5 separate regions of the Homo sapiens genome follow, and regions 2, 3, 4 and 5 are each linked to region 1. Evidence: promoter capture Hi-C in 16 types of primary human blood cells and fetal thymus (Javierre and others, 2016). All regions are on one chromosome and are shown on one strand. The core of a region is centred on a gene start or on the middle of the fragment in contact, and the rest is flanking DNA. Distances in the headings are between cores, read along the strand shown. Region 1 holds the start of ZNF195 (zinc finger protein 195). Region 2 has its middle 12 kb from the start of PHLDA2. Region 3 overlaps CARS1 (cysteinyl-tRNA synthetase 1). Region 4 overlaps OSBPL5 (oxysterol binding protein like 5). Region 5 overlaps NAP1L4 (nucleosome assembly protein 1 like 4).

Region 1 (4,341 bases), core at 865-3,364:
AACAGCAGCAATGCTTCATTACTCTCTGTATCTATGCTCTTTATTGTGTGCTCTTACAGCTCCTCCCATCAAGAGGCCGAATGTGTTTCCCAAACTTTGCATCTGGCTGGCACTATTTTCTCTGGCTATAGAAAACTGTTGTATTAGTTTGTTTTCACACTGCTGATAAAGACATTCCTGAACATGCGAACAAAAAGAGGTTTAATTGGACTTACAGTTCCACATGGCTGGGGAGGCCTCAGAATCATGACGGGAGGCAAAAGGCACTTCTTTCGTGGTGGCGGCAAGAGAAAAATGAGGAGAAAGCAAAAGTGGAAACCCCTGATAAACCCATCAGATCTCGTGAGACTTATTCACTAACATGAGAATAGCATGAGAAAGACCCGCCCACATGACTCAATTACCCCCTTCCCCGGTCCCTCCCACAACACACGGGAATTCTGGGAGATACAATTCAAGTTGAGATTTGGCTGGGGACACAGCCAGACCGTATCAACTGCGAATATGACAGCTTTTGTGCTAGTTTTGGGCCTAGGCTCAAAAGGTCTTAAATGCTTCTGTGTTTCTCAGAACCTTGCTATCTTTATGAGATCAAGCTATCAGAACCTTGCTATCTTTATGAGATTAGCCAGCTGGAGGATGACATACCATGGTGGGGAGAAGGAAGGTGCCACTGTTGATAGCCATCTCATCCCCAGAAGCAGAGCCACCTAGTCAACCAGCAGCTGGCCATACATACATGAAGCAGTCCAGTTGTGACAAGAATAGCTCAGTTGAGTTCAGCGTGAATGGCTGATGAACTCAATCATGAGCTATTAAGTTTTCGGTGATTTGTTATGCAATAGCTAACTAATACATGCACCCAGGGCAGATAGGGTGCCAGGATTCAATGAAAGGTTGATTCCTAGTTACCTGCAAGAAGAAAGCACTTTATAGGTACTAATTCTCCCCCCTTATTTAAAGTTGGATCTTTTGTAAGATAATGTTCCGTCATACAGAAATGCATGTACACATGTATATATGTGATTGGTGCTTTTACTCACACAGCCCCCCAACCACGGGAAGAAACAGACAATCACAGCTTGATCATTAGGGCTAAGGCCAAATAGCAAGATAAGTCTGCCTCTAGTCTATTTCCTCCATATCTAAATGTTGGAGGTCAAGGCTATGGACAGATCTGAAGATGTGTTCTCTCCTCTTAGGGCCCCATTATTGATGGGCAGCAGTCCTCTACCCGTGGATATTTTCTTTTGCTTTCCCCTATGCTCTCTAGGATCACCATCTCGTCCACCCTTCGACCGGAGGAGAGATGTTTGTAGCAAGAGGCTGTTCCCTCACCTCTGGCTGAAAAGGGACTTTCAGACCCTCCACTTCCTGACATAAGGGAGGTTAGACCTCAGAGCTGCACTTTAGTGTGGCAGCTATTGATCATGTGTGGCTATTGAATAACAGGAATACAGCTGGTCTGAACTGAAATGTGCTGAAAAGGTAAAATACAGAGTGAGCTTCAAAGATTTAGTACCCCAAAATATATACTTCCTTACCAATTGTATATTGACCATAGAGGAAAATGGTTACATACTGGGTTAAATTATTACAATCAACTTCACCTGTTTCTTAGTACATTTTAAAACGTGGCTACTAGAAAATTTAAGATTCACACATGGCTTACATTTTAATTCTTAGAGGCTTGAATCCTTTTTGAAATTTCAGGCTGTCTGTTCAAAGGACCAAAAGCCAGGAAGGCCATAAAATATAAAAATTCAAAATGATTGTCTTTATTTTCTTCTTTCCATTGGTGAATAACATATATTTATTATTTATAAATAAACATAACCGCAGTCACAAGATGAAATGTAAATATCCTCTAGGTGGGGCCGGACAGCGCAGGCAGGAAGCCCCGCTCCAAAAGATCGCGGCCAGCACCTGTCCTTGCTGTCTCATTCGGCCCATTGTCTGATTACAGCTCCTGTCACTCAGGGCCTGAGGGGGCGGGGCGTGATGCCCTATCCAATCAGAGGAGTAGGGGCGGGGACTGTCCAATCAGGCACATGTCTGGAGAGGAGAGGACGGCTTCCGGGATCTAGCGGGGCCTTTGTCCCGACAGAGCTCCACTTCCTGTCCCCGCGGCTCTGTGTCCCCTGCTAGCCGTAGGTCGTGTGACCCGCAGGCACCGGGAGATCCAGAAGTGAAACGCCAGGCTCTCTGGAGGCCAGGAGATGGTGAGTGTAGGGGCCAGGCCTCCTGAGAGACAGGGAGGGGCGGACTGGAACCCGCGGTACCGGCTCGGGAGGAACCGGGCTGCCCGGGTGGGTTCCGGGCTCCGCGGACCCGAGGCCCCTCCAGCTGCACCATGGCGGCCGGGCCCCGCGCGCCCCGGCGCATCCCTGCAGAGCGGCTTTGGCCCAAGCCCAGAGCCATGTCCCCCCGGCAGCTCTTCGCCCGCAGACCCTCGTCTCCCCGAGTCAGGAAGGGAGAATCCCGACTCCGTGGGTGGTTTGTGCATAAGAGGATGATCTGTAGCCCGTGGGGGCCCCAGTCCCTCCTTTCTCTCGAGGGAGTCCTTGCAAAAATGTGAAAGAGTTTTATTTGAGCAAAGAGCGATTCATGAATGGCAGAGGACCCAACCATGTTTTTTGGGTTTGGAGGTCCCACCAGCCGGCCTTGAAGGAAAGGCTTTTATCAGGTGCATGAGGAAGCAAACCACATTCATTCATTAGTTCGGTACAGTTACGTCATCTCCTGATTTCAGCTATCTAGGCTGAAATTTTCTGGTCCTGTAATCAGAAGTTAATTAGAGGTTTGTGGTTGACGAAGCCTGAATTTTGTTTCTGCAAGATAGTCATTTGCAAGAAACGCATCTGAGTTAGATTTTTTTTTTTAACCTAAGAACCCAGGGCACTAGAGCCACCTCAGTCGGATTGCCTGCTATTTAATTATTATTATTTTTGAGATGGAGTCTCGCTCTGTCCCCCAGGCTGGAGTGCAGTGGCGCGATCTCGGCTCACTGCAACCTCTGCCTCCCGGGTTCAATCAATTCTCCTGCCTCAGCCTCCCGAGTAGCTGAGATTACAGTCCTGCACCACCACGCCCGGCTAATTTTTGTATTTTTAGTAGAGACGGGGTTTCACCATGTTGGCCAGGCTGGTCTTGAACTCCTGACCTCATGTGATCCGCCTGCCTTGGCCTCCCAAAGTGCTGGGATTACAGTCGTGAGCCACTGCGCCCAGCCTGGACGGCACTTTTTAAGAGATTTGTTTTCTGTTTGTAATCATTCCACGTGACAGGAAAGCAGAGAATCATCCCCTGACGCTATTGTAAAAAGTCTTTGTGCCTCTCCTCCTTTTTATTTTCCCTAGGCACAGACACCTTACCAGAATGTCTTTGGTTTGAGGTTCCACTTTGGAAACTTGACAGGGTGATTTGCTCTCAGCCACCCTCTGGACTTTTTCCTCAGTTTCAGTATTGTCCAGGGATAACACAGGATGCCCACCATGGCCATGTCTGCTGGAGCATCTAGTGAATTTCAGGCCCTGGGTTATTTCTCAGAGGACAGCCTGAGGTATGAAGTGTGGCCTCTCCAGGGAGCAGCTGGATGCCCTGGGCTGAGAGAAATCTCCTGGTCTACTCTTCCTCTAAAGAGGTAACCACTTAGGACATTAAGATTGTCTTCACCCAACCCAACTTTCAATCCCTGGAGACACATGGCTGATCAGCCAATCACATGCCCCTGTCAGAGGGAAAAGACCGAAATCATTTCTGCCCTTTGGACTCTCAGATTTGTGAAGGGAGACAGAATGTTTCAAAGAGCAAGAAAAACTCCACCCCGTGAGATGGTGCAAAACCTGTAAAGCAAAATTCACCTGGGACACTCAGCGGGGCACAGTGCAGTGTATCATCGGGGGTGGCCGGTGAGCACTTCGGTGAACAGGATGGAGGTGGGAGAATCTCCCAAGGAATAGAATAGCCTGACTTGACACAAGTCATTAGCTGTGTCTGTGTTCCAGTCGGCACTGCCACTCTCTGTGTCTCCTTGAAATAATTTATTCACTTACTGCAATGTTGGATTTTTAATTGTAAATTTACATTTTATCAGTAGAGCTTGAAAGGTAAGAAAATACTTACAAAGGACATGAAATAGGTCAATTTCAGGAAAAAAGTTAAATATCTAGTCATACATACCTTTTTCTTCTCCAGAGTGATTAAGGGTAGAAAGTTACTTAGGTCTGTTCTTTTGTGGAAGATGATTTCCAACAGAATCCCAGGGCTTAGCTTTGGGAATGCTACCAGGGAACATAAAATGCTTCTTGGATGGCTGTGGAGAATGTTTACATTTTCTAC
Region 2 (4,302 bases), core at 1,213-3,712, 440 kb after region 1:
TCAGATTTGCACTTTTCGATCAGATTTGCACAAGCAGGGGAAAGGGCTTAACATTGTGGCTTCTGGGGGTGGGGGTATCTGGATTTTCCCTTTTGAGTAAGAAGTGTGTGAGAACCCTGCACCCACCTGCGTGCATCCTTCACTGAGCTGGGTTCCTGTGTCCGCCAGTGAGTCTGACCTTGGGAGTGCATGGTTCGTGGATGCTGCCCAGTTCCAAGGACATCTGGGTGCAGGACCTCAACGTGAAGCCTGGGGAGCTGTGGAGGCCCGAGGGTGCAGGCAACCTGGTCTCCCCCAGGACCTCAGCACCTCCGGCCTCTGTCACCCCTGCATGGCCGCCGTGTCCTGCCTGCACCCCAGGGTCTCAGAAAAGGGAAGGTCATTCTCCAGTGGCCAAGGAGCCCAGGAACCATCCCAGGCCCAGGCCATTGTCAGCTCAGGAACCTCAGCCATCAGTGGTCACCGAAAGTCGCTGAGTGGTTGAGAGGTTTGCCCAGAGCCACCATCTGGAAGGCAGCTGGGAAGTGGGGGCTTGTGGCGGCCGCCCAGCCTGGCCTGGGTGAAGGGTGGCTGCTTCCCTTCTGGTCCTGGAGGCCAGGGGGTCTGCCACAGAACCTCAGCTCTGCTAGCCCAGGCCCTCCTTTTTCCCGACTCAGCCCCTGGCTGGGGAGGCAGACATTCACCGTCCAGCCCCGCCCCACCCACCCCACCCCGCTTGGGGCTCCCCCAGCCCCTGCCCTTCCTGTGACTGTTCACCCTGTGCGGGAACTGAGACTCAAAACCAGTGGCGCTGGGGTCAGGGCAGGAGTTTGGGGAGCAGCCCGGGAGATGGGAGGTGGGGCCTGGGGCACCCCCACCCCCTGCACAGGTGGCTCAGACGCTTCTGTCAGCTGCCATCACACGGGTGCTCCTGGGCAAGGAGGGAAAGAACCCGCACGGCAAGCAGCCAGGCACAGAAGACCTGGAGGGCCCTGTTTCTGTCCGGTTCTAGAGCCTGCAAAGCTATAGTGCCGGTGACTGCCTGGGAGGGATCTGGGGTGGGGGGACTGACCAAGGAACGCTTTAGAGGGATGGAAGTGGTTACACAGGTGTATACGTCTGTCAGAATTCATTGAGTTACATCAAAAATGGGTATATTTGGTTGTATATAAGTTAGTCCTCAATGAAGCTCAGCGTTGTTTTTTTTTTTGAGACGGAGACTCGCTCCATTGCCCAGCCTGGAGTGCAGTGACACCATCTCGGCTCACTGCAATCTCCACCTCCCAGGTTCAAGCGATTCTCCTGCCCAGTCTCCCAAGTAGTTGGGATGACAGGCATGCACCACTGCACCTGGCTAATTTTTGTATTTTTAGTAGAGATGGGGTTTCACCATGTTGGCCAGGCTGGTCTCGAACTCCTGACCTCAGGTGAACTACCCACCTTGGCCTCCCAAAGTGCTGGGATTACACGTGTGAGCCACCGTGCCTGGCCTGAAGCTCAGTTTTCAGAAGTCCCCAAAACAGGGTGATTCCACTTAAAATTCTGTTTTTTCCCTTGAGTCAGGAGCTATGGCTCCCTAGAACCTGATGGCTGCTGCTTTCCCCAGCAGGGTCACCTGGGACCCTTGTCCACAGCTGCCTGGCGTGTGGGTCCGCGGGTGGTGTGTACCCCAGGTCAGCCTACCTGGCCAGTCTGCTCTCTAGGCTCATGACTCCCGTTTATGTGGAGCTGGGACCAAGCCGACATCCCACTCTGCTCCTGTCCTGCTGCCCAGCAAACCTCCCCAGGCCCAAGGGCCACCCATGGGGCCAGAGCCCCCTTCCCCAAGTCCCAGGTCCAGGGCTTCCTGCCACCCCACCCATCTTGTCCCACTCTCAAAATGCCCTAGGCTGCCCCCAGCCCCATCGCTGGGCAGGCTGAGTCAGCATGAGCTGCCAGGATCCAAGCTTGCCCCTGAGGTGGGAGGCAGGGGTGGGGTGGGTAGGGGGCAGCCAGCTGGCTCCACCAGCCAGCCAGGTGGGTAGGTGGAGCCCCTGGCCTCTGCCTGGCTCATCCAGGCACACCTTGATATTACTGACCTCTGACCTGCCCCTGCTGGGTCCTTGGCTTGCCTGGCTCTGAGTCAGGGCTCAGGGCTGGGCAACTGGTGAGCAACAGAGGAACAGCCAGGGGCAGCGGTGGGAGAAGTGACCGTCCCAGACTCAGCCAACTCCAGCTGCAGTGCCCTGAGGGAGCCCTGGGCCTGCAGAAGGGGTTGCTGTGTGCAGAAGCCTGTGGTTCCCTGCCAGCCAGGCCAGCCTGGCCACAGCCTGGCATGGACTTCGGCCTCTGCCCCAAAACCCTCAGAACAGGTGCCTTCCCAGGTTCCTTCTGCTGGAGCAGGCACCTCCTCCCCAGCCCGCCCCAGGGAGCATCCCCATGTGGAGTGGGGGGCCCAAGGGACCCCAGGCCCAGCTGTTTGGACCCCACCCACCAGGAGACACTGGCAAGCAGTGGCCCCCAACAGCAGGGCCTCCTGGAAGGACGCCTCCTCGGGCTGGCCCTGGCTGAGCTTCTGATGCGCTGAATTTGGTGTGGGTTTCCAGGCACCTCATGCGCCTGGGACATTCCCCATTTAAGAGATGCAGACCCGAGTCTCAGGACAGAAGCCAGGGCCCAGCTCTTGCAGGGTGAGGCCTGGACGCCTCTTGCCGAGGCCAGGTCACCTTGGTGTGCCTGAGGGAGGCCCCGCCTGCTAGGCTGTCCCCAAGGTGCCAATCACTAGCCCATCCTGGCCATGCTGACTCATGGCTCTCTGAGGGTGGCAGCCGGATGTTACTTACCATGACAACCCAACAGCCTGGCCCAGCCCAGCCCAGCCCAGGAGAAACGGGGCAGCTACAGCTGTGTCCAGGACCCCACTCAGGGCGGACCCACACAGATCACCCTTGTCGAGCTCCTCAAGAAGTCTGTGGTGTCCACCAAGTTTCCAAATCTCCCTAGGTCTCAGTTTCTGTATCTGGGACATGGGGAGAAGCTTCACCTCCTCAGAACCCAGACCCTGGGCATGGCAGGGCTGCCCACACCGGCCCTCACCAGTGCCTGCCTGGCTGGAAGCCAGTCCGAGGAGGGAGGACAGTGCCTCACTGAGCAAGGCGGGTGCAGGGCTGGGAGGACAAGAGGGAACGCCTGGAGATGGGGCCTCAGGTGCAGGCACTGGCCAGAGTTGCTAGAGTCTGCTGCCCCCAGCCTGGGGGCCGCCAGCGAGGGCCTGAAGTGGTCCCTGGGTCTCAACCTGCCCCTTTTCAGCAGGGGCTGCCCTCCCCAAGGACCAGAACACCAGACCTTATGTGGGGACCCTTCCTCGTCATCTGGGGGCTCCAGGCATTCCTTGGCTTGCAGCCACTTCCTTCCGATTTCTGCCTCTGTCTCACGTGGCCTCCTACCCCTATGCCTGCTTCTCCATAGTTCTCCCTTGTGAGGCCCACCTGGGTAGTCCAGGGGAAGCTCCTGCTCTCAGGGGCCTTTCCTATATCACACCCTAGCCACTAAGGTCATGTTCACCCATTTGCCATCAAAGGTAACATTCGTGGGTTTCAGGGAGTAGAACATGGATATGTCTTATTGGGGGCCACCATTCAGTCCATGAAAGGGGTCTTTCAAACAGACCAAAGCACATGAAGAGGGGAAAAGACAGCCACGCCAAAGGCCACAGACACCCAGAGAGATGGCTGCCCCCACCCCAGGGATAGAGAAATGTGTGTGAAGACCTCAGTTTTTGACCACCAGATTGTGGGGTTTTGTTGTTGTTGTTGTTGTTGTTTTGTTCGTTTGTTTGGTTGTTTGGTTTTTCCTGAGACAGGGTCTCACTCTATGGCCCAGGCTGGAGTGCAGTGACACTTTCTCAGCTCACTGCAACCTCTACCTCCCAGGGTGAAGCAATTCTTCTGCCCCAGCCTCCCGAGTAGCTGGGATTACAGGTGCATGCCACTGCACTAGGGTAATTTTTTCTATTCTTAGTAGAGACAGGGTTTCACCATGTGGGCCAGGCTGGTCTCAAACTCCTGAACCCAAGTGATCCACTCACCTTGACCTCCCAAAGTGTTGGATTACAGGCGTGAGCTATTGCCCAGATTGACTTTTTTTTTTAAGTACAGAGTGCCCACCATTGGCCTAGCCATGGGGAGATTGGCATTGCAGCCCTTGGGGGAAAGGGTGAATAGGAACAGCCCCACTGGCAGGCCATTTTGGCAGTTACCACACATCTGAGGGCCTTGCTAGCCCAGCAGTGCCATGTCTGGTGTGCAGGAAGGCAGTGCCATGTAAGATGACAGCAACAGGGAC
Region 3 (4,451 bases), core at 500-2,999, 340 kb after region 1:
AGTCCAGACTCACGGGAGAGGAAGTCAACAGCTGTGTGGAGGTGAGGCTTCACACATCTCCCAGACAGCCCGTTCGGGTCAAATGTCGGGCCGTGCATAGACTGATCTGTGTGCACGGATTGATTCCACAGATTGTCTTAGTGGAAGACACTCTGTGTCTCCAGTAGCTCCACTGTGGCAGGCGGCCCTGTTCTGCGGTGGCTGAGTCAGTGCCCCTCCCCTCCCACACCCCTTTGCCCCATTTCCTGGGTGCAGAGCCTGTGCCACTGGAAGGAGACTCGGGATCCACACCCTCCCACCACTTCCATCAGATAGGCAGGAGGTGCACTTGGAACGTGGGGAGGCAGCCTTCTGTCGAAGTGTTCCAAGATTCTCCAGCGGACTCTCCCCACACCAGCTGGAGAAGGAGGAGCAGGGATTAACATTGAATTGAGCATTGAGGCCTGTGGGTACCTACTGAGCTTGGGGCCTTCACGTTGACCAGCTCTCCTGCCCCTGCCAATATCTCCTTCAGACACAGGGCAGAGACCTGGGTGCAGAGGGGACCCTGCCCTCTTCCTCAGGCCTTTCCCTGTGGCTGGCGCCCTGGACACAGTCAGGAAGGCCTTCTCCTTTGTGCCAGCGCCGCCTGCTGGTCACCCTTTAAGAACTCGATGGAAAAGAGAAGAGACGGCTGCAGCTGTGTGTAGAAAAAGAGGCCCCACTGAGGCCGCAGCCCTGCCTTCCCTCACCACTGCCCTGGCCCCACCTCAGTGATGGGGCAGGGAGTCTGTGTCTGCCCTTCGCCAGCATGTTTCTTTCTAGTTTGGTCTCTTCTGTGTCCTGACTCAGCAGATCGCTTCGTTGCGCCTGTTTCCAAACTTCACGGAAACACGCCACGTGTATGTAGTCGTCAGTGTGCTTTCACCCAAGCTGTGCTTCTGGGACGACCCACATGTGGTCACTGTCACTGCCTCAGTGCCTGCCTGGGAGCCGAGCTGTTTGTCTGTTCTCCTGGGACGGGCAGTTAGGTTTCCTTCTTACCAACAATGCTGCTGTAATTTTTTTCCCAGTTGTTCCACTAATATTCTTTTTTTTTTTTTAATTGTGGTAAAACACACATCATAAGAAATTTACCATCTTAGCCATTTTTAAAAACTTTTTTTTTGTAGAGACAGGGTCTTTTTGTGTCTGGTTTATTTTGCCCAGCATAGTGTGCCCATGGTTGACCCATGCTGTAGTGCATGTCAGACTCTGCTTCCTTCCTATGGCTGAATGATACTCTGTTGTGTATAGATGGGCCACATTTTGCTCATCCTTTCACCTGCCCGTGGACACGTGGGTTGTTTCCACCTTTTGGAGATGCAAGTAATGCTGCTATAAACCTGGGTGTACAAATATCTGTTTGGGTTCCTGCTTTCACTTCTTTTGGGGATATACACGGAAGTGGAATTGCTGGGTCATGTGATGATTCTATTTTTGATATTCTGCGTAACCACCGTATTGTTTCTGCAGTGGCTGCACTATTACACATTCCCACCCATAGTGCATGGGGTTCTGTTTTCTCCACATCCTTGCCAAAGCTTGTTATTCTTCATTTTTTTCATCCCAGTAGGTGTGAGGTGGTATACTGTGGTTTTGGTTTGCATTTCCTTAATGGCTAGTGATGTGGAGTGTCTTTTGCTGAACTGTGAGTTGTTTTGTGTTGTCTCTAGGTGGACATTTGCAAGTTTCTTTAGGCCATATACCTGCAAGTGGAATCGCTGGGTTGTGTAGGATATATGTGAGTGACTGTCGGGGGTTCCCAACACTGCCCACACATTCTGGGGCCCTAGAAGGACTCATGAGACTCGGCATCGAGTTATCATCTTGTCTAAGGTTTGTAGCAGTGACACAGCGAGGAGCAGAAGCTCAGGCGGAGTCTTCAATCATCCATGGGCAGGCTGCTGAAGCTTCCTCCCTGCCTCCCATGAGGGGACACAGCACACTCTCCCCCACCAGGAAAAAAATGCAGCCACATGTGTGAAATGTCCCTCCCTAGGGAAGCCCATCACATAGGCACCCTCTGCCTGGCACGTGCCGCAATTCCTGACTCCCCAGGAGGAAAGCTGGTGTTCCACCTGCATAAGCCACAGTGTTTGTTCAACAGCCCACTGGGGGCTGCTGCCACAGAGCTGGGTTTCCCGGCCTCTTAGCACAGGGGACATTTCAGCTCCTGGATGCCAGCTAATGGCCAGCTCTGTAGGCAGGCCTTTCTCAGGTGGCAGACACAGACCTTCTAGGCTCACTTTTATCTTCATAGTAGCCATATCAGAAATGTCTATATGGCCAGGCACAGTGGCTCACACTTGTAATCCCAGCACTTTGGGAAGCCAGGGCAAGAGGATCACTTGAGCCCAGGAGCTCCAGACCAGCCTAGGCAAAATAGTGAGACTCTATTTCTACAAAACTTTTAAAAATTAGCCAAGCATGGTGATGCAAGCCTGTGGTTCCAGCTACTGGGGAGGCTGAGGTGAGACAATCACCTGAGCCCAGGAGTTTGAGGCTGCAGTGAGCCATGAACACACCACTGCACTCCAGCCTGGGCAGCAGAGTGAGACCCAGACTCTTAAAAAAAAAGAAAGAAATGTCTATGCAAATTTCTTCTTCTTCTACCACATTTTGGGTGTGCTGTGTATTTGCACATACACCTGCATTTGTATTGTTGGATTCTTCCCTTTCATCAGTCAATGAATGTGAAGTGCTGATTGCTGTGGTTTGAATGTCCCTTTTTCCAACCTCTCCTGAGACTGAGCATCTTGTCAAGTGCTTGCTTCCAGCTGTGATTCTGTGCCCCCATCTCTCCCCCTTTCCCATGAGGTTATTGGTCCTTTTCTTACTGTTTTGTATCATTCTTATGTCTTCTGATACTAATTACTATGATTTGAATGTTTGTCCCCTCCAAAACTCATGCTGAAACTTAATCCCTAGTGTAACAGTATTAAGAGGTAAGGCCTTTTAGAGGTGATCGAGTCATGAGAGCTCTGCCCTCATGAATGGGTTAATGGATTAATGGGTTATCACAGAAGTGGGGTAGTTATCATGAGAGTGGGGCTGTTACAGAAGCCAGTTTGGCCCTCATGAGCCCCCTGGCCATGTGATGCTCTGCGCCACCTTGGGACTCTGGGAAAAGTCCCCACCAGCAAGAAGGCCCAGAACAGATGTGGCCCCTTGACCTTGAACTTTCCAGCCTACAGAATTGTAAGAAATAAATTTTATTTAAAAATTACCCATTCCCAGGCAGGGCATCGTGGCTCATGCCTGTAATCCCAGCACTTTGGGAGGCTGAGGTGGGCAGATCACGAGGTCAGGAGATCGAGACCATCCTGGCCAACATGGTGAAACCCCGTCTCTACTAAAAATAAAAAAAAAAAAATTAGCTGGGTGTTGTGGCGTGTGCCTGTAATCCCAGCTACTTGGGAGGCTGAGGTGGGAGAATCCCTTGAACCAGGGAGTCAGAGGTTGCAGTGAGCCGAGATCGTGCTGTTGCACTGCAGCCTGGCGACGAAGCAAGACTCCGTCTCAAAAAGAAAAAAAATTTTACCCATTCCCGGCCAGGCGCAGTGGGTCACGCCTGTAATCCTAGCACTTTGGGAGGCTGAGGCGGGCGGATCACCTGAGGTCAGGGGTTTGAGACCAGCCTGGCCAACATGGCAAAACCCCGTTGCTACTAAAAATACAAAAATTAGCCAAATGTGGTGGCGCGCGTCTGTAATCCCAGCTACTCTGGAGGCTGAGGCAGGAGAATAGCTTGAAACCAGGAGGCGGAGGTTGCAGTGAGCCGAGATCACGCCACTGCATTCCAGCCTGGGAAACAGAGTGAGACTGTCTCAAAAAAACAAAACAAAACAAAACAAAAAACAGAAAACAAAAAAAAGAACAAACAAACAAAAAAACAGAAAACAGACTAAGACACGAATTCATCTCTGTTACATGTTGGCATGTGTTTGTGTCTCTTAATTCTGTTCTGTTGGTCAAATTGTCCAGCCCAGACCAGGTGCAGTGGCTCGTTCCTGTAATCATAGCACCTTGGGAGGCCAAGGCAAGAGGATCCCTTGAGCCCAGGAGTTTGAGATCAGCCGGGACAACATAGTGAGACTCTATCTCTACAAAAAGTTTAAGAATTTAAAATTTAAAAAATTTATAAAAATTGCCCAGTCCTGCAGGAGTATCATGCTGTCTCTCACAGGTATCTGATGGGTAAGAGGCCCCATCTTGGTTTTGTCGTTAGGTGTGTTTTGAAGCCTCAGCTTGTCAAGTTCCATGTAAGACACTGTTGGGATTTTACATGTTGTATCTAAGAACCATCTCAGATCCAGTTTGGCTGTGTTGATCCTCTGTAGTCTTTTTGTTTTATCAGTTTTTGTCCATTCTTTATTCCTTCTTTTCTTCTTTTTCCTTTGGATTTATTCTGTTTTTCTTTGTCTCATTTA
Region 4 (4,309 bases), core at 1,602-4,101, 270 kb after region 1:
AAAGATTTTATTTAAGTTACATAAACTTGAAAAAGCATTTGACTTGTCTTTTCTTTTTTCCTGATCAAGTATTTGATTCAAGTGCATTTACTTTCTTAAGCCAATCAATTAGAGCCCTTTTATATATTTTCAGTAGTGAAACATTGTGTACACGACACATAAATACATAGACATATTAGGCATGGCAATAGAAGTACATCTCATAGGTTTATAAAAATTTTTTTTTCCTGTCTTAGACTTTCAGATTCTTGATAACCTGTTTCACAACCCTAGGCAATTGTCAGCTAAATAGCCTTAAATTTGCATATTAAGGGAAACAACTCAGGTGAAAATCAAATAGCAAAATTTGCATAAGGTACAGAGAGAAAAAGTCTGGTGGTGCTAGAGGGAGACTAAAGATGGATGCCAAATCAAACAAAATTATAGAAATCTATCATAGGATTGCATAAGGAGACCAATTTTATGTAGTAGGGACTACCTATCATTTAACTGGATCTCTGAGCTCTGGGAAGAGCCCACACTGAATCCTAGGTCTCCAGAAAGGGAGAATTATCATGAGGTTAGACCACGTGATGCTTTTATAGTGCACTTACAAATTTTTTTTAAACAAAGACATTTCTAAGTGTCTAAACCACACTCTTCCTTAAAAGCCCAAGAGTAACCACTGTTGCAATAACTACTTTAGTCAAAAAAAAAAAAAAAAAGAAAAGAAAACACAAAACAGGTTACACAATACAAAAGTAAGCAGTTTAAGAGCTGAGACAAACTTGTCTGTTTACATTCTTGGGGTTTCATAAGAAAAAACAAGTTTCTCCCCCAAGGGGAGTCTGGCACCCTCTCCATTTTCTTTAAGGAACCCCAGGCTACTATAAACTATTTTAGGTCCCCCATGCGGCAGAAGGTGCAAGAGAAAGGAGAGACAGCAGAAGTAAATCAAGAAACAGAATTCAGTCAACTGAGAAGAAAAAACCCTTTTGCTCAAAAAAAGACAAGGTCCTAGGAGAAAAACAAAAACAGAAACATGAAGGTCTCTTAAATACAAACACACACATATGCGCACACACACACATGCACACACACATATGCACACACACATGCACACACACATGCACACACACATACACATGCACACACATGCGCGCACACATACACACACATGCACACACATGCGCGCACACACACACACATGCACACACATGCGCGCACACATATGCACACACACACACACAGCTTGGATGTTAGCTTTTCATTAAACTGACTTTTAACCATTGAGCTTCTTTGAAAAAATCTTTTTAAATCTCATTCCATATTTCAACTAGGACAAATTTCAACGAGGACACAGAAGTACAGTCATTACTCTTTCAGTTTGGCCTAGCTAGTGAAAATGTGGCCTTGTTATATGAATAAAGCCCCTTAGTAGTCAAAATCAAAATCTTTCCTCTTTTTTTTTTCCTTTTGCTGGCCGTTTTTCTCCCCCCATCACGCCACCATTGTGTGTGGGGGTGGGGAGGGGAATTCAGCCACTTCAGAGGCCTTGTTCCCCATAATTTGGAACTTCCTTCAGATTTGATCAAGCCAGATAGAGGTCAATGGGAAAAAGACCAAAACAACAAAAACAGAAACAATCAACAACAAAAAAACAGTTAAGCGAAACAAACAATCGCACAACTTACGTGATCACTGAGTGCTCTAATGGTAAGGAGAAATTAAGACCAGCTGGTTGTTAATCTTAACTTTAGCTAAGACAAACCACAATTCAGTTACTTCCCTAGGGATGGGTCTCAGGCTGAAAACTCAGATCTCCACCATCCTGGGAGCAGGAAAAAAAAAAAATTCATCTTCCCTGTTGGAAGCAAGCTCGAACTCCATAAAGGAGTTACCTGCCTTCCATCGTCATGGAAGCAGGGAAAACTTGCCTTCCTTGTATCGGAAGCAAGTAAAACTCCAAAAAGAGAAGTTGTAAAACAAAATAAACTTTAGATCTCGACCAAATTTTGAGAGATCAGGGATTCTCTGTGGCAGGGGGTGGGGGTGGGGCACGGGGGGAGGTGCTTCCAGGCCTCAGCAAATTGTCTTATTGGTTTGAGCCATAAAGTTAGCTCAAGCTGGTACCAAGCACCAATAGGAGACTTGTGAAAAGTCAGGGGCATCTCCACTCAGAATCCTTCAGTGGTTACCAAAATGTTTGAACCCTGAAAATCTGAGACAGGTCTCAGTTAATTTAGAAAGTTTATTTTGCCAAGGTTGAAGACGCCTACCTGTGACACAGCCTCAGGAGGTCCTGACGATGTGCCCAGGGTGGTCAGAGCACAGTTTGGTTTTAGGGAGACATGAGACATTAACCAACATATGTAAGATGAACATTGGTTTGGTCTGGAAAGGCGGGACAACTTCAAGCGGGGAGGGGCTTCCAGGTCATAGGTAGATAAGAGAAAGATGGTTGCATTTTTTTGAGTTTCTGATGAGCTTCTCCAAAGGAGACAATGAGATATGCATTTATCTCAGTGAGCAGAGGGGTGACTTGGAATAGAATGGGAGGCAGGTTGGCCCTAAGCAGTTCCCAGCTTGGGTTTTTCCCTTTAGCTTAGTGATTTGAGGGGCCCAAGATTTTCCTTTCACACCAGGCACCATTGAAACAACAGGTTCTACTGTTATCATCCACATTAGACAGGTCAGGAAACTGAGGCACAGGCAAACTGCCAGCAAGAAAGTGCTAGAACGAGAATTTCCCTGACTCCCAAATGCATTGCACGCTGTTGCTGTTCCCTGAGTGGCCGCTCAGGCAGCTGTGACTGCGATGATCCTCCACCTGGAGGGATTCCCTCTTGGCCGTTCCTCCCTCTAACCTGAGGTTGGGGCCCTACCCCACCTCGCCCTCCAGTGGCTGCTCTGGGTAAATGCGGTTGCTCCACCTCCTCTAACCCCAGGGTGATGCCTCCCAGAGCAGTGGGGTGAAGGGCTCCCATCCCGCCGGTGGTGCAGACCTAAAGCAGTCTGGCCTTGACCACGGGGCTCCGGTGCCTCTCAGGTTGGAGTCTCGGTGCCACATCACCCCTGGTGGTCAGATGCCACATCCATGCTCCTTCCTGGGCCATCCTGAGTGCCCCACTATGTGCCAGGTCCCATGCAGGCCCGGGGATGGCCAGGGCAGCCCACAGCCTCTGTGCTCCTGGGTGAGGTGGATAACCAACCATCAGATAAGGCAGGTTGGGCTGAGGTGTGAGCTGAGCCCCTGATAGGGTGTGGGCCACCATTCGGGAGGAGAGGTGTCTGCAGCCCCTGTGGGTATCAGGGTGGGCTTCCAGGAAGAGGAGGAAGAGGTCTCGGAATGAGCTTCAAAGGATGCATAATATTCAGGATGTCTAGTCCTTTGTGGCAGCTACAAAGCACACGTGTTCAGGCCCTGGGGCCAACTCGGCAGTTGTGACCCCTCCAGCTCCCCACCACCATCCACTGCCATCCCTCCCCCAACCCTGGTGTTCCGCCCAGGCTTGGCCGCTCTGGCACCAACCAAGCCTGCAGTGGAACCAGCAGGATCCCAGATATCCCCCCAACCCAATGAGAAGGGCAGCTCTAGAGACCCAGGAGCCACTGTCTAGGCAGGCCCCTCCCTACACTGGACCCTGAGATGCCCCACGAAGAGCAGGATTTAATGGATCTCAAAGTGAGGGAGAAAAACTCACTGTCTCCAGGAGCTCGAAAAGGCAGAGGCTCAGAGAGGCACAGAACCGCCTTCAATGCTCTTCAGCCCCATCCTCCCACCTGACGTGACCCCAGGAGGCTTTCTTTGAATAACACTTACTAACAGCCCAGGCACAGTGGCTCACACCTGTAATCCCAGCACTTTGGGAGGCCGACGCAGATCACTTGAGGCCCAGAGGTTGAGACCAGCCTGGCCAACATGGTGAAACCCCATCTCTACTAAAAATACAAAAAAATTACAGGCAGGCACCTGTAATCCCAGCTACTTGGGAGGTTGAGGCAGGAGAATCACTTGAACCCTGGAGTCAGAGGTTGCAGCGAGCTGAGATCACCCTACTGCACTCCAGCCTGGGTGACAGAGCGAGACTCCATCTCAAAACAACAAAAAAACAAAAACAAAAAACACACTTATTGACCCGGTGTGGTGGCTCACACCTGTAATCCCAGCACTTTGGGAGGCCAAGGCAGGCAGATCACCTGAGGTCGGGAGTTCGAGACCAGCCTGACCAACATGAGGAAACCCTGTCTCTACTAAAAATACAAAATTAGCCGGGTGTGGTGGTGCATGCCTGTAATCCCAGCTACTCAGGAGGGTGAGGCAGGAGAA
Region 5 (4,220 bases), core at 1,674-4,173, 400 kb after region 1:
GAGTGGGAATGAGTGTGGGGAGGTAGACAGGGCCTGAATCAGTAGGAATGTGTATTCTGCAGAAGGTGACGGGGGACCATTGAAGGGTGTTTTGTTTGTTTTTGAGACGGAGTTTTGCTCTTGTTGCCCAGGCTGGAGTGCAGTGGCTTGATCTTGGCTCACGGCAACCTCTGCCTCCTGTATTCAAGCGATTCTCCTGCCTCAGCCTCCCGAGTAGCTGGGATTACAGGCGTGTGCCACCATGCCCGGCTAATTTTGTATTTTTAGTAGAGACGGGTTTCTCCATGTTGGTCAGGCTGGTCTCGAACTCCCCACTTCAGGTGATCCGCCCACCTCAGCCTCCGAAAGTGCTGGGATTACAGGTGTGAGCTACCACACCTGGCCTCCGTTAAAGGGTTTTTAAATCTTCACTGACTAGGGCTGGGTTTGGGTTGCTGCTGTGGTCATGGTGGTGAGCATAGCCAGCCATTGTAGGGTTTATTGCCTTTTTTTTTTTTTTTTTTTTTTTTTTTGAGACAGGGTACTTGCTCTGTTGTCCAGGCTGGAGTTCAGTGGCGCAGTCATAGGTCACTGCAGCCGCCAGGCCTCCAACTCCTGGGCTCGAGTGTTGCTTCTGTCTCAGCCTCTCAAGTAGCTGCGACCAGAGGTATCAGCCGCTGTGTCCAGCCTCATTTTTTTTTTTTTCTTTTTGTTTTGAGACAGTCTGACTGTGTCTTCCAGGCGGGAGTGCAGTGGTGTTATTTCAGCTTACTGCAACCTCTGCCTCCTGTGCTCGAGCGATTCTCCTGCCTCAGCCTCCTGAGTAGCTGGGACTACAGGTTCACACCAGCACGCCTGGCTAATTTTGTTTGTTTGTTTGTTTTTGTAGAGACGAGGTTTCCCCATGTTGCCCAGGCTGGTCTGAAACTCCTGAGCTTCAACTAATCTGCCCACTTTGGCCTCCCAAAGTGCTGGGATTATAGGCATGAACCACTGTGCCTGCTGCATTTTTTTTTTCTTTTTGGTTTTCATCTTCTTCATTAAAACATAATTTATTTTTTTTGAAAAAGACAATGTGTAATATTTGTTGTATTTTGAATCTTAAAAATAGCACGTTTTATTTCTAAACAATAAAAATTTTAAAAAAGTAGTTGAGTTAAATACAGGACAGTCATAGATCATAATTAGAACTGTTTTTGTTAAATATAGAGGGGTTTTTTTGTTGTTGGTTTTACCCTAAAGCTATGTGATTCAGTGGTTTGGGCTTTGCTCAGGTACTGAAGAATGAACATTGGCCAGTTTTCAGCTGGAACAACCGTTTAGCGAGGCCCTCAGGTGTATTTCCCACATCTGAGTTTAAGGAACTTCGTAACCACACCTGTATTATTTTACATTTAAGGACCTTTTTAAGCTGTGCATTTAGCTGTTACTTTAAATGCATTTAGATTAGATTTTGAAATTGTATAGGCCAGGCGTGTTGACTCACACCTGTAATCCCAACACTTTGGTAGGCTGAGGTGGGAGGATCTCTTGAGGCCAGGAGTTTGGGACTCAGCCTGGGCAACTTAGCCAGACCCTATCTCTACAAAAAATAAAATTAGCTGGGCATGGTGGCCTGCGCCTGTTGTCCCAGCTACTCAGGAGGCTGAGATGGGAGGATTGCTTGAGCCCAGTAAGTTGAGGCTGCAGTGAGCCAGGATTGCATCACTACACTGCAGCCTTGGTGACTGAGATCCTGTCTCAAAAAAAATGATAACTTTTTTTTAGTTTTATTAATATCAAGTTCTTCTATTTAAGAAGTAAATGCCCTAGAACACACCCTTAATATTCAGTTACAATGTCATCTAATTCTACCAATATAGAAATAATCATCTTTAAAAGTGGAATAATACTGAGTATATTACACAAGGTTTTTACACAAGCAATACATCCTCAGTGTAGAAGTAATGGAAGATACGGAATAAACAAATGCAATTAGAAAATAATCCCATAAGTTAATTTGAAAGTGTAAACACCAGTAAATGCTTTGACTTACTCTAAAATGGTTGGGCTATCATTAATGTATGTTTGTGTTGCCGAATGTATTATAAAAAATAAGGCAAATTAGAATTAATGTTATTCTGAAGTCTGGTTATTTTAGTGCCAATAAGATAATTTTATTTTATTTTATTTTTTTTTTTAGATGGAGTTTCACTCTTGTTGCCCAGGCTGGAGTGCAGTGGCATGATCTCCGCTCGCTGCAACCTCCGCCTCCTGGGTTCAAGTGATTCTTCTGCCTCAGCCTCCTGAGTAGCGGGGATTACAGGCGTGCACCACCACGCTCAGCTAATTTTGTATTTTTAGTAGAGATGGGGTTTCACCATGTTGGTCAGGCCGGTCTCGAACTCCTGAGCTCAAGTGACCCACCCACCTCGGCCTCCCAAAGTGCTTGGATTACAGGCGTGAACCACCGCGCCAGGCCGAGAAATTTTTTTATGAGTAAAGTTTGTGTGTGATGAAATGCACAGATCTGAAGTGTATAGTTTAATAAGCTTTAACAAGTGTATATACTCAGGTAACCTCAGTCAAGATCTAGAACATTTTCATCACTCTAGAAAGTTCCCTCCTGTCCCTTCTAGTGGACTCCATCCCACAGATAACCGTTGTTTAAAAAGTATATTGAACAAACATTTTTGCTTATGAATATAATTATTACAACTCTTTTTAATTTATAGGGGATAAAAACATTCAGATGGCAGATCACAGGTAAGCCAAAGTGGACTTTGTTTATTGGAGTTTAAAATTCAGTTGGTGAGCAACAGCCAAGCCATTTTTCAATAAATAATTAGAATCAAAGTTAAATGCATTTCAGCGTCTAGCTGATGGCTCATTTCTTGTGTATGTATTTGAGCACGTAAAGAAATTACTTCCGACATGAACAGTGCCTCAGACATTGACACTACAGATCTTTTATGGAAAGCAATCGTTTTGCTCTCCATGCTTTAACACCCCTGGGGTGAAGTTAGGTAATTTTGACACTCTCCTAACAGTCTGTAGTTGTCAGTGATCAAGTGGAAGATTTTGTTTTGTGGATTGAGGGTTACTTTTAGTTGTGTATATTATTTGATGTTTATTTTTTGTGAGGGAGGTGTGTCCAGGCATCTTTAAAAACTGTTTCATGGCTCATTTTACACTTGTTGTGGCTAATTTTACAAAGCCACTTTGGGCACTGTCTTAACTTGGTAAGACTGCCTTGCTCTGATCACATGAGCAGCTGACCAAACAGTAACATGTTCGTTGGTTGATGGGTTTGGTTTGAGGGCTGGGAGCAGATTTTTTGAGGAAAGAAGCTGTAGAAATGAGAGCTAAGAAGCTTTGGCTAAGGTTGGAAATAAGAACTTTGTAGGGCTTTATGTTTGGGAGAGGAGAGGGGATGTTACGTAGTAGAATATTTTTATAGCAGAGAGGACAGCCTCTGAGATAACATGCACATTGGTAGTTTTCTTCTGCCCAAATCTGACGTCACTGTACAGATACCTCTTAATATATTGAATAAGAAACATGTCCATTTGTGCTATGTCTTTGGAACTTTCTTTACAGTAATACTTTTTAAACATACTGTTGTTTTAGTTTTTCAGATGGGGTTCCTTCAGATTCCGTGGAAGCTGCTAAAAATGCAAGTAACACAGGTCAGTCCACTGCACATGGAGAGTTTGCATCCAGTATGGGGAACGTTCCTCTCTCTGGAAACATTTATTAATGCAAGTAAAGGATTCCTGTACTGCAGTGGTTTTAGGAAAGCTAGAGTAATTAAAATGAAAAATCAGTATCTCATTAACAAAAGATGTATTTATTATAGGAATTCAGACTCTACAGTAGTAAAGAGAGTAATAGTACAGTCTACCTTCTTGTAGCTACCATCAGTGAGCTTTAGTATTGATTAACAAATGACCAGTCTTTTTTCTTATTTTTGAGATGGAGCCTTGCTGTGTTACCCAGGCTGGTCTTGGACTCCTGGGCTCAAGCAGTTTCCTGCCGCAGCCTCCCAGGTAGTTGGGGCTACAGGCACAGACCACTGCTCCTGGCCATTTTTTTTTTTTTTTTTTAAGTCTATACCCTTTACTTTCCTTCCTTTGGAAAGCAAATCCTAAGAATGTCATTTTGTTCATAAATTCACAGATGTGATATTTTTCCACCATTAAAAAAAACTATATCTGTACTCCCCACTCCCTCCAAACTGTTTGAAAGCAAGTGGTGGATAT

Evidence for each region. The method cuts DNA at HindIII sites, captures the fragments that hold promoters and counts their contacts. A CHiCAGO score of 5 or more calls a contact.
Region 2: a fragment that was not itself captured here is called in contact with the fragment with the promoter of ZNF195 in region 1 in 1 of 17 cell types (erythroblasts); the score reaches 6.0 in erythroblasts.
Region 3: a fragment that was not itself captured here is called in contact with the fragment with the promoter of ZNF195 in region 1 in 1 of 17 cell types (erythroblasts); the score reaches 5.2 in erythroblasts.
Region 4: a contact is called between a fragment that was not itself captured here and the fragment with the promoter of ZNF195 in region 1, in 1 of 17 cell types (erythroblasts). The highest score is 7.2, in erythroblasts.
Region 5: a fragment that was not itself captured here is called in contact with the fragment with the promoter of ZNF195 in region 1 in 2 of 17 cell types (erythroblasts and M2 macrophages); the score reaches 5.2 in erythroblasts.

Annotation. Positions count from the first base shown.
Region 1 is chr11:3,376,919-3,381,259 of GRCh38, reverse strand. ZNF195 (zinc finger protein 195) reads left to right here and starts at 2,114. Exons shown (of 6, transcript NM_001130520.3): 1 at 2,114-2,222. The coding sequence starts at 2,220. It also overlaps the pseudogene TSSC2. RefSeq lists enhancers at 1,867-2,161, 1,850-2,413 and a silencer at 2,339-2,408. The HindIII fragment of the contact is 5,109 bases long and covers 1-4,341 here.
Region 2 is chr11:2,939,185-2,943,486 of GRCh38, reverse strand. No RefSeq gene overlaps it. Among named protein-coding and RNA genes, the nearest start is that of PHLDA2, 12 kb to the right of the region's middle. RefSeq lists a silencer at 3,202-3,378. The HindIII fragment of the contact is 1,070 bases long and covers 1,928-2,997 here.
Region 3 is chr11:3,033,640-3,038,090 of GRCh38, reverse strand. CARS1 (cysteinyl-tRNA synthetase 1) reads left to right here. Exons shown (of 23, transcript NM_001014437.3): 7 at 1-41. The region is part of intron 1 of CARS1-AS1 (CARS1 antisense RNA 1); the gene reads right to left. Among named protein-coding and RNA genes, the nearest start is that of CARS1-AS1, 6.5 kb to the right of the region's middle. The HindIII fragment of the contact is 369 bases long and covers 1,565-1,933 here.
Region 4 is chr11:3,108,874-3,113,182 of GRCh38, reverse strand. The region is part of intron 7 of OSBPL5 (oxysterol binding protein like 5); the gene reads left to right. Among named protein-coding and RNA genes, the nearest start is that of CARS1, 54 kb to the right of the region's middle. RefSeq lists a silencer at 2,949-3,008. The HindIII fragment of the contact is 7,730 bases long and covers 1-4,309 here.
Region 5 is chr11:2,977,711-2,981,930 of GRCh38, reverse strand. It overlaps NAP1L4 (nucleosome assembly protein 1 like 4), which reads left to right. Exons shown (of 16, transcript NM_005969.4): 2 at 2,694-2,724; 3 at 3,589-3,647. The coding sequence starts at 2,711. Among named protein-coding and RNA genes, the nearest start is that of NAP1L4, 13 kb to the left of the region's middle. The HindIII fragment of the contact is 821 bases long and covers 2,513-3,333 here.